Regions from separate parts of the Homo sapiens genome. Here all the other regions are linked to region 3. Evidence: promoter capture Hi-C in 16 types of primary human blood cells and fetal thymus (Javierre and others, 2016). All regions are on one chromosome and are shown on one strand. The core of a region is centred on a gene start or on the middle of the fragment in contact, and the rest is flanking DNA. Distances in the headings are between cores, read along the strand shown.

Region 1 (3,479 bases), core at 799-3,298, 5.9 Mb after region 3:
TTGTTACATCAATAACACATTTTGACATCAGTACATATATGTCAGTCTTTACTCCTGTTTAATTGTTACTCTTTAGCCTGAATTAACACTAAGAAACCTAATACTGGAATTAATCCATATATGGTGATGTGGTTTAGATGTTTGTTGCCTCCAATCTCATGTTGAAATGTAATTCCCAATGTTGGAGGTGGAACCTAATGGGAGGTATTGGATCATGGGACAGATCCTTCATGAATGGCTTAGCACCATCTCCTTCATAATGAATAGGTTCTCACTCTGTCAGTCACCTGAGCTCTGGTTGTTTAAAAGAGCATGGAACTTCCTTCCACTCTCTCTTTCTCCTCTTCTCTCCATGTGACATGCTGGCTCCCATCACCTTCTGCCATGATTGTAAGCTTCTTGAGGCCTCATCAGAAGCAGATACCAGTGCCATGCTTCTGGTAAAGCCTGCAGGATTGTGAGCCAATTAAACCTTTTTTTCTTTATAAATTACCCAGCCTTGGGTATTTTTATATAGCAATGCAAGAATGGACTAACATAGAAAATTGGTACTGGGGAGGAAGGCATTGCTATAAAGATACCTGAAAATGTGAAATTGGCTTTGCAACTGAGTAACAAACAGAGGCTGAAAGAGTTTGGAGGGGTCAGAAGAAGACAGGAAGATGAGGGAAAGTTTGAATGGTTGTGACCAAAATGCTGATAGAAATATGGAAAGTGAGAGCAAAGCTGACAAGGTCTTAGATGGAAATGAGGAAGTTATTGGGAACTGGAGCAAAGGCCACCCTTGTTACACCCTAGCAAAAAAACTTGGCTGTATTGTGTCCATGCTCTAGGAAATTGCAGAAGTTTGAACTTAAGAATGATGATGTAGGGTATCTGGCAGAAGAAATTTCTAAGCAGCAAATTATTCAAGATGTAGCATGGGCCAGGCGCGGTGGCTCACGCCTGTAATCCCAGCACTTTGGGAGGCCAAGGCGGGTGGATCACGAGGTCAGGAGATCGAGACCATCCTGGCTAACACGGTGAAACCCCGTCTCTACTAAAACTACAAAAAATTAGCCAGGCGTGGTGGCGGGCGCCTGTAGTCCCAGCTACTCGGGAGGCTGAGGCAGGAGAATGGCATGAACCTGGGAGGCAGAGCTTGCAGTGAGCCAAGATAGCACCACTGCACTCTAGCCTGGGCAACAGAGCAAAACTCTGTCTAAAAAAAAAAAAAAAAAAAAGATGTAGCATGGCTGCTTCTAAGAGCCTATATCAGATGAAGGAGCAAAGAAATGACTTAAATAAGTTGGAACTTATATATAAAAGGGAAGCAGAGCATAAAAGTTTGGAAAATTTTCTGCCTGGCTCTGTGGTAGAGAAAGAATCCAAGCAGGCTGTGGACCAACCACTTGCTAAAGAGACTGGCATAACTAAAAGGGAGCCAGGTGCTAATATCCATGACAATGGGAAGAAGGACTTAAAGACATTTCAGAAATCTTTGAGGCAGCCCCTCTCATTACAGGTCAGAGGCCTAGGAGGAAAGAATTATTTCAGGGGCCAGGCACAGGGCATTGCTTCCCTGCTCAGTCTTAGGACCCCACTCTCTGCATCCTGGCCACTCCAGCTCCACCCATGGCTCACAGGGCCATAGGTACAGCTCAAGCTGCCACTTTGGAAAGTGCAAACCACTGTAAGCCTTGGCAGCTTCCACATGGTGTTAAGGCTGCAGGTGTACAAAATGCAAGAGTAAAGGAGGCTTGGCAACTCCCACCTAGATTCCAGAGGATATATGGAAAAGCCTAGATGCCCAGGCAGAAGCCTGCAGTAGGGACAGAGTCCCTACAGAGAAATGCTACTAGGGCAGTACTGAGAGGAAATGTGGGGTTTGAGACCCTACAGAGTCCCCAGCAGGACACTGCCTAGTGGAGCTGTAGGAAGAGGGCCACGAACCTCCAGACCTGAGAATGGTAAAGCCACAGCAGCTTGCAAGCTCAGCATGAAAAAGCCACAGGAACTTAACTCCAGCCCATTAGAGCAGCCACAAATTGCATTCTGTAAAGCCATAAGGGCAAAGCTGCCCAAGGCTTTGGGAACCCACATCTTGCACCAGTATGCCCAGGATACAGGACATGGAGGCAAGGGAAATTATTTTGGAATTTAAAGTTTAATGCCTACCCTGCTGGGTTTCAGACTTGCATGGGGCCAATTGCCTCTTTCTTTTGGCTGATTTCTCCCTTTTGGAATAGAGTGTCTACTCAATGCCTCTACCACCATTGTATCTTGGGTGTAAATAACTTGTTTTGACTTCACAGGTTTGTAGGTAAAAAGAACTCAACTTGAGACTCAGATGTGACTTTGGACTTTTGATTGAATTGATGCTGGAATGAGGTAAGGCTTTGGGGGACTGTTAGAAAGGATGAATGTATTTTATAATGTGAGAAGGACATGAGATTTGAGGGGCCAGAAGGGGAATGATATGGTTTGGGTGTTTGACTCCTCCTAATCTCATGTTGAAATGTAATCCTCAATCTTGGAGGTGGGGCCAAGTGGGAGATATTGGATCATGGGGGCAGATCTTTGATGAATGGCATCACCTTCATGATGAGTGGGTTCTCACTCTGTTAGTTCACCTGAGATCTGGTTATTTTTAAAAGGGCATGGCATTTCCTCCCTCTCTTTCTTGCTCTTGTTCTCTCCATGTGACATGCTGGATCCCGATTGCCTTCCAACATGATTGTAACCTTTCTGAGGCCTCACCAGAAGCAGATGCCAGCACTATGCTTCCTTAAAGCCTGCCAAACCATGAGACAATTAAATCTCTTTTCATTGTAAATCACCCAGCCTCGGGGATTTCTTTATAGCAATGTAAGAATAGACTAATGCATATGTTAAGTGAATTCTTATTTAGAATAGATTAAAAAAATTAGACATTAAAACCATCTGACTAAGACTTGTTTTCCAAGGTGGCTGAATAAGAAGAGCTCCGGTCTGCAGCTCCCAGCATGATCGATGCAGAAGATGGGTGATTTCTGCATTTCCAACTGAGGTACCTGGTTCATCTAATTGGGACTGGTTGGACAGTGGGTGCAGCCCACGGAGGGCGAGCCAAAGCAGGGTGGGGCATTGCCTCACCCGGGAAGCACGAGAGATTGGGGGATTTCCTTTCCCTAGCCAAGGGAAGCCAGGACAGAATGTACCTGGAAAAACAGGACACTCCCGCCCAAATACTGCACTTTTCCCAAGGTCTTAGCAACTGGCAGACAAGGAGATTCTCTCCTGTGCCTGGCTCAGTGGGTCTCATGCCCATGGAGCCTTGCTCACTGCTAGCACAGCAGACTGAGATCAAACAGTGAGGTGGCAGCCTGGCTGGGGGAGGGGCATCTGCCATTGCTGAGGCTTGAGTAGGTAAACAAACTAGCCAAGAAGCTCGAACTGGGTGGAGCCCACTGTAGATCAGCAAGGTCTACTGCCTCTATAGACTCCACATCTGTGGGCAG
Region 2 (3,724 bases), core at 562-3,061, 5.9 Mb after region 3:
TCTTTTTACTTCCTCTAAATTTGTTGCACATATCAAAAAGCTTTGTTCTTGATTTTTCTTTGTCACTGTAGAAGTATTTTAATGTGTCAAAACTTTCATCTGCATGTTTCTTTAATTTGCAGTGGATTGATTATTAGCTCTTTGTTCCAAATAACTGTCACTCATTTTAAAATCTTTCCCAAACACAGGTACTATTTCTATTCTACATAATGGGAGAATGTGCCAGTAGGAGACTGCCTGGCCAACTCTGAAAAAAATGCTTTAACAATATGCCCCAGCTAGAATCACTTTTCCTTTATTTCCACAAATCAAATTCAAAATCAAACTCATTATGGTATACCTTATATAACTCGATCATGTTTATAAAATTAGCATTCTTTGGATAGTAAAACACCAGTTAATACTTAATTTGTTTACCCATGCACAAAACTACCTCCCGAGATTAGACTAAGTCCCTTTAAGGATTTTAGGTCTCCATTTTGAGATGTTTTGATTTATAGAAGAAACTGAAAAAAAAATCTAGAAGAAGTCGTTTTCCTCCTTTGTAAACCTGTTCAAAAACAAACAAAAAGACAGTTTTAAAACTCAAACGACTCATGGATGGAACACAATGACTTTTTAAAAAATCATTTTCTCCAAAATAGAGTACTAGTAATTACTGATCGTTTACCATGTATCAGGTGCTTTACTAGGCACTGTAGAGGCCAAAAAGAGATAAAAAACAGAGGCCTCTGCCTGGTGCAGTGGCTCACGCCTGTAATCCCAGCATTTTGGGAGGCCAAGACAAGTGGATCACTTGAGGTCAGGAGTTCAAAACCAGCCTGGCCAAAATGGTGAAACCCCATCTCTACTAAAAATACAAAAATTAGCTGGGTGTGGTGGTACGCGCCTGTAATCCCAGCTACTCCGGAGGCTGAGGCAGGAGAATCATGTGAGCCTGGGAGGTGGAGGTTGCAGTGGGCCGAAATAGTGCCACTACACTCCAGCCTGGGTGACACAGCAAGACTCTGTCTCAAAAATAAAATAAAATAAAATAAAACCCAGAGGTTTCAAACTGGAAGACATATTATGTTTGGCTTACATAGAATTGCATTATAGTTCTTTACTAAGTTTTTATTTTTATTTTGAAATTTATTTATACTTAGAGAAAGCTTACAAAAATAATAGTTTCTGCATACTCTGCACTTAGCTTCCCCAAAGCTAACATCTTACCTAATTACAGTGCAATTAAAGAAACCAGAAAATTCACATTGTACCATGCTGTAGATTAATCTGCATGCCTCATTTGAATTTAATCCAGTTTCCAAATCCATTTTTTTCTTGGACCACAGTATTTTTAAATCTTACCATTAATTGCCAACATGTTTAAATGTAAGAGACTTCCCATCACATTCTAGATTCCAAGCTTCTCTTGAAACATCAAAAGATCTAGCAACACTGGGCCTATAGTCCTGCAGGGCAGCAATCAGCTAAAGCTGAGCAGCAGCTGTGCCCTTTAGAGAGGGAACATGTTCTCTTTGATTCCCTGACACTGGGACTGACTGTTCTGGTAGTCTCCACTAACAGTAACAGTCTAGCAATAACAGACTGTTGCTATTTGTCATTGAACTGGCACTATTGTTTTTCTTACAGCAGAATTATGAGAAAGTGAAATCAATGTAACACATGTGTCCATCAAAAGTAACAAAAATGAAAAGTAGAGAAAAAGGACATATGTTTTGAGAAAAATAGGATAATTTTTGTCTTTGTGGAAAGGAAGGATATTCCTTCATATCAAATACGTAAACAGAGTATGCTTTCATTTAAAAGAGACACCCCACAAGGCCTCATGCCATGGCTCACTCCTGTAATCCCAGCACTTTGGGAGGCTGAGGTAGATGGATTGCTTGAGCCCAGGTGTTTGAGACCAGCCTCAAACTGGGTGACTTGGCAAAACACCATCTCTACAAAGAAACTCAAAAATTAGCCAGACATGGTGGCACCTGCCTGTGGTCCCAGCTACTTGAGAGGCTGAGGCAGGAGGTTCACTTGAGCCCATGAGGCAGAGCTTGCAGTGTGAGACTGCATAACTGCACTCCAAACTGGGTGACAGAGCAAGACCCTGTCTCAAAAAAAGAGAGAGAGAGAGAAAGAGAGACACTGAGAGTTTTTCTCATTTATATCACCTCCATTTGAGTTTGCAAACCCCTTACACAAATCTTATCCTAAAGAAGCTTTAGGTCAGGCGTGGTGGCTCACGCCTGTAATCCCAGCACTTTGGGAGGCCAAGGAAAGCAGATAACTTGAGATCAGGAGTTCGAGACCAGGCTGGCCAACATGGTGAAACCCTGTCTCTACTAAAAATCCAAAAAAAAAAACCATCGGGCGTGGTGGCACGCACCTGTATTTCCAGCTACTCAGGAGACTGAAGCAGGAGAATCACTTGAACCCGGGAGGTGAAGGTTGCAGTAAGCCAAGATCACACCACTGCACTCCAGCAAGGCATATATTTGTGGAAATTTAGGCAACAACTATACAATAAATATACACAAATATGCCAAGATGTCAACCCTAGATCACTTCAACCTCTGTCCTAATCATTTCCAACACCTAGATGCAACCCTGCAGACTGGGACCAGCATCACTTAAGACTCCTCTGCCATCCCTTAGCAATAGGCTCAGCTCCCTAGCCCATGCCCTATGCACCTCTTCTAAACCTTCAACACCTTCCTCAAATTTCTCCACTGCACTCCATCTCATTTTCAGTCAATTACTTTGCCTTCTGTTTCTCAAAGAAAAGAGACATCATTGAGCAGGAACCTTCTCACGTTCTCATATCCAAGCCGTTTTGGCTCACAACCTACTTGCTGTCTCAGTTAAAGACTTGCCCCCTTATGGGATCCTACACTGTCCTACTGCCTCAGAAATCTTGTTCTTAATCCCATCCCCTCATTGCTTCAACTCTCATTCCTGTCACTCTCGACTGGCCTTTTTCCTTTCACATAACCATGCTTAAATCTATCTCAACTTTCAAATGAAAGAAATTTTTAAAATTCTCTTTCGGCCGGGTGTGGTGGCTCATGCCTGTAATCCCAGCACTTCAGGAGGCTGAGGCGAGTGGATCACGAGGTCAGGAGACTGAGACCATCCTGGCTAACACGGTGAAACCCCGTCTCTACTAAAAAAAATACAAAAAATTAGCCGGGTGTGGTGGCATGCACCTGTAGTCCCAGCTGCTCAGGAGGCTGAGGCAGGAGAATCGCTTGAACCCGGGAGGTGGAGGTTGCAGTAAGCCGAGACTGCACCACTGCACTCCAGCCTGGGTGACAGAGTGAGACTCTGTCTCAAAAAAAAAAAAAAAAAATCCTCTTTCAACCACACTTTCCACTCTAGCAACTACCCTGTATCACCCCTTCTCTTCACAGCCAAGCAAACTGGACATGTGTGTATGGTTAATGTCTCCATTTTCCCTCTCCCATTTACTCATTAAGTCAGCATCACTTAAAACTGCTTTCGGTGTTAATAACACCAATGGCTTTTTTGCTAAAACCAATGGAAATGTTTGCATCTGACACTGGGACACACTTCCTCTTAGAAATGTCCCATTCCCTGGGCTTCTCTGATACCAAGCTCTTGGGATTCTTCTTTCATTTCTAGTGGTTCCTTCTCAGATTGGCTCAGTCCCCAGCCTCTCCTCTTCTGACTCATTCATTTAACCTACCAAGAAGGCAACCTCCCCAGTCCC
Region 3 (3,538 bases), core at 1-2,500:
ACACTTTGTGCCTTTACACGCATTTTTCCTTCCATCTGGAAGGCTTCTACCATCTGCCAAGGTAACACTGCGAGGTCTCACCACAAACTGAATTGATAGTCTCAGGCTGAGTTTGCAGAGAACCAAAGTCACTCCTCTACCATCAGAGTACTCCCCTATCACCACATACATTATCATCCACTGTAGTTGTCTTATCTGTACCTGGTAAATACAGCAGCTAACGCTCACGAGTGCTCACCACAGGTCAAGATTATCTCACTTATCTTCACAAGACAGTAGAGAGCGGCCACACGACTGACAGAATTCCAATTCCAGCCGTATGATTCCAGAGCCCAAGCTCTTAACCGCGAGGCTGAAGTTGAAATATCAATAAATGCTCGCTGACTAAAAGTACTAAATACGAGAGAGAGATCAAAAGATGACTAGTCAAGTCGCGTAGTTAAATCTGAACCCTAAGGTGACACAAAAAGAGGATGCGCAGGAGGCAGGGTTCAATTCAGGGCGTTTAAAAGGAGGAGGTTATTGGCCAAGTCCGCTAAGCACCCGGAGAGAGGCCAGGAAAGATGGAGTGAGGAGAGGGAGGAGTCAAGGGCCACTCTGGAGGGGTGCATGAGATTGGCGGTCTGGGGAGAGGACAGACTGGGTCGCACACGACTGAATTTCCCAGCGCAGAAGCCGCTGCGTTGCCTCCGCGCCCCTACCACTGCACTCGGAAGGTCAAAGTAGTATCAACCGCGGCGGTGGCTGCAGCGCAGATCCCGACTCCTCTCGCCTCCTCCCGCGGCCACGGCTTCTTTTCTCCGTTAGCCACGCAGCTACCTACTCCCGCTTCCGGTTCAAACCCTGCGTGACTGCCCAGCGCCCACTTCTGGAGGAAGAAGCAACGCCAAGCAGCCGCAGAGCACGGTATGCCCATGCGCATCCAGTATCACGCGGTCTCCGCGCTCAAAACACTGCCCCAAAACATTCGGCCCGTCGGAGCAAACGCGCCTGCGCCATGTCCACCAATGGCCAGCGACTTAGCGTTTGCGGCTCGCCCTTCGGCTCGGGCTCCGGGGCTCTCACCCACCCTCTTCGCCCTCGTCGTCCTCCCCGCCCTCCTCATCCCCGCCCCTCCAAGTCTGAGGACGGAAGTGACGACAGTTCCGAAGGCGAACGGAGGCGGGTTTCATTTCGGCGCCTTTCTTTCTCTGGCGGAAGCGATTGGCTGCCGTGAAGCGAAAGAGGCGGGACAAATTGCCGCGAGTTCAGTGCCGCCACTGGAACCAGGAGATGCGGCGCAGGAGCTGTCGCTGTGTTTGCTTTAACCTGAGTCTTGTTCCTTATTGTGGTTCCTGCTGTGGTTTTGATCATGTTGTTACCCTCGGACGTAGCCCGGCTTGTATTGGGTAAGCGCGGACGCGGGATGGAGGGTTATTGGACCCGGCTATGCTGGACAGAAGGACCTTTGAGGCCAAAGGTTTTCCCTTGGTAGGGAAGCTTTGGGGTTTTGCCTCCCAGCTTACGAGTTGAGACTGGCGGTGATTCTTCGTCATTCGGAGGTTCTGGGCAGTTTAAGCCTCTTTGTATGTAGATGCTCCTCTCTTCAGAGGCTGCGTGGCGAGGGGAAGCCCGAGGGGAAGCTCGGGGTGGAACACCTGGGGCGGATTCGGAAGGAAAGTCAGGCCTCCACACTTAATTAGGACCCCTGAAAGAGCATTTGTCTGCATGACGGACGGATTGCGTGTGCTTCAACCTTGGGCGCAATTTCCTTGGTTCAGTGTTGGGACCAAAATAGGGCAAATAGGGAGTTCCCCGGCCCCCCATCTTTGTAGAGAGACCTTCCTGGCGCCCTTCTAATAACCCGCCCTTATAACTACGAATTTGGGAGTAGGGGTGATCTTCCTTCTCCATCCTCCACGCAATACGTCGTCCAGTGTAGAGGTGTGAAATGCCAGTTGCATATTTTAAAACAGCAATTCCTGTTCCTTTGATCAGCGAAAAATTTCAGAGGGTTAATTGCCTTAAATTAGTTGAACGTTTTCTAGCCCTAGTTTTACCTTCATTTGAGGAGGGATTGTTTGTGGGTCACTTGTCTGTCAGGGTGTATTGTCTGTGTGAGAGACGGGTTTTGTTGTTGTTTGTCCCCTGAAAGAATAAAGAGGATTGTACTACAGGGGACGAGAGCCAGGTAAAGCTCAAAACCCGAGCCAGTAATTTACGGACGTCGTATGCGACGTCCCTAAAAGTAAATGGCAAGCATCTGTGATGAAACCTCCCATAGTATTCACAGCCATTACTACTATTATTTTATTGTTCGGAAAACCCATTTGTCTTGTGCCTCTTTTAAATGCCCAGCGCTGTCCACAAAAATGTTATTTGCGCAGGGCTCTTGATAAGCACATTTTGCAGGAAACGTTAAACGGAAATGGTTCCACCATCCATTTTTGAAGAAACTTAATGACAAGTTTAATGTTTTGTTAATGTCTGATTAATCTTTTGCTTAAGAATTCTGAGTTTTGGCAGTTTGGTAATCTAGTTGAGTTTCGGTAACTATAGTCTTAAACATGGTTTCTCAGCCTCAGTACTGTTAACATTTTGGGCCTCATAATTCTTTATTGTGGGGAGCTATCCTGTGCTCAAACATTGTAGGATGTTTAGCAGCATTCCTGGCTTCTATTCACTAGATTACAGTAGGACACCCGTTCCCCACCCTACCCTTACCCAGTTGTGATCAGTGAAAATGTCTCTAGATATTGCTAGTATGTCCCCTGGAGGGCAGAATCACCCCTAGTTAAGAAAGCCCTAAGAAAGCAGTATCATTTTCTAATTGAAATAATTCACATCGATGTGTGAGTATTCTTTCTCCACAAACCAGCTACTCTGCTGACTTCCTGCTTTTCATTTAATGGACAAAAAACGCCAGCCATGGTTTTCTTATCTTAAAAATCTTTGTCATTCACATTCCATTTTCACTGCCACCAATCCCGCAATGTGCCTGCCATTACTTCTCTTTTGGACTTCTGTCATGGCTTCCCAGACAGTTGTCCTCGCAATTCATTTTATTTACTGTTGTTACAAATCTCCCTGAAGCTTTCACACTATACCTTTTAGTCTGAAAGTTGAGATAATTCTATTCTTACTAAAAATTTCAGATGGGCAGGAGTATACAATACAAAAAAGCCTCCCCATGCCTAATGCTCTTACTTTTGTCGTTTATCATTTTACATCTTAAATAGATACATATCGTGTATATCTTTCTCATATGAGGTTTATTATTTACTCATGATTCTTTTCCTATCAGTACCCCCTCGCCATCTTCAGCTCCTCTTGTTATTGGTCCCTTCATAATGTTTTTTTTCTAGCAAATCTTTGGGTGCCTAGTATGTTCCAAACACTGTGCCAATTGCTGAACATAGAGAAGTTAAGTTTTCTCCCCTTAGTGTTCAGATAATTAGGTTTTTTTTAAATTCTTAAACATACACACAAAAAAACACTTTTCTGGACCCCACTAGACATTAGACACCCATTAAACAGAACATTCTGTCTTATGTTCTGT

Evidence for each region. The method cuts DNA at HindIII sites, captures the fragments that hold promoters and counts their contacts. A CHiCAGO score of 5 or more calls a contact.
Region 1: a fragment that was not itself captured here is called in contact with the fragment with the promoter of NPAT in region 3 in 1 of 17 cell types (non-activated CD4 T cells); the score reaches 6.7 in non-activated CD4 T cells.
Region 2: a fragment that was not itself captured here is called in contact with the fragment with the promoter of NPAT in region 3 in 1 of 17 cell types (total CD8 T cells); the score reaches 5.9 in total CD8 T cells.

Annotation. Positions count from the first base shown.
Region 1 is chr11:102,300,956-102,304,434 of GRCh38, reverse strand. No RefSeq gene overlaps it. Among named protein-coding and RNA genes, the nearest start is that of BIRC3, 15 kb to the left of the region's middle. The HindIII fragment of the contact is 3,302 bases long and covers 398-3,479 here.
Region 2 is chr11:102,318,663-102,322,386 of GRCh38, reverse strand. It overlaps BIRC3 (baculoviral IAP repeat containing 3), which reads right to left. Exons shown (of 9, transcript NM_001165.5): 2 at 1-550. Among named protein-coding and RNA genes, the nearest start is that of BIRC3, 3.0 kb to the right of the region's middle. RefSeq lists enhancers at 1,921-2,030, 2,652-2,731, 3,602-3,651. The HindIII fragment of the contact is 808 bases long and covers 1,408-2,215 here.
Region 3 is chr11:108,220,350-108,223,887 of GRCh38, reverse strand. It overlaps NPAT (nuclear protein, coactivator of histone transcription), which reads left to right and starts at 1,250. Exons shown (of 18, transcript NM_002519.3): 1 at 1,250-1,388. The coding sequence starts at 1,352. It overlaps ATM (ATM serine/threonine kinase), which reads right to left and starts at 821. Exons shown (of 63, transcript NM_000051.4): 1 at 702-821. RefSeq lists enhancers at 335-414, 725-884, 1,295-1,354. The HindIII fragment of the contact is 4,203 bases long and covers 1-1,481 here.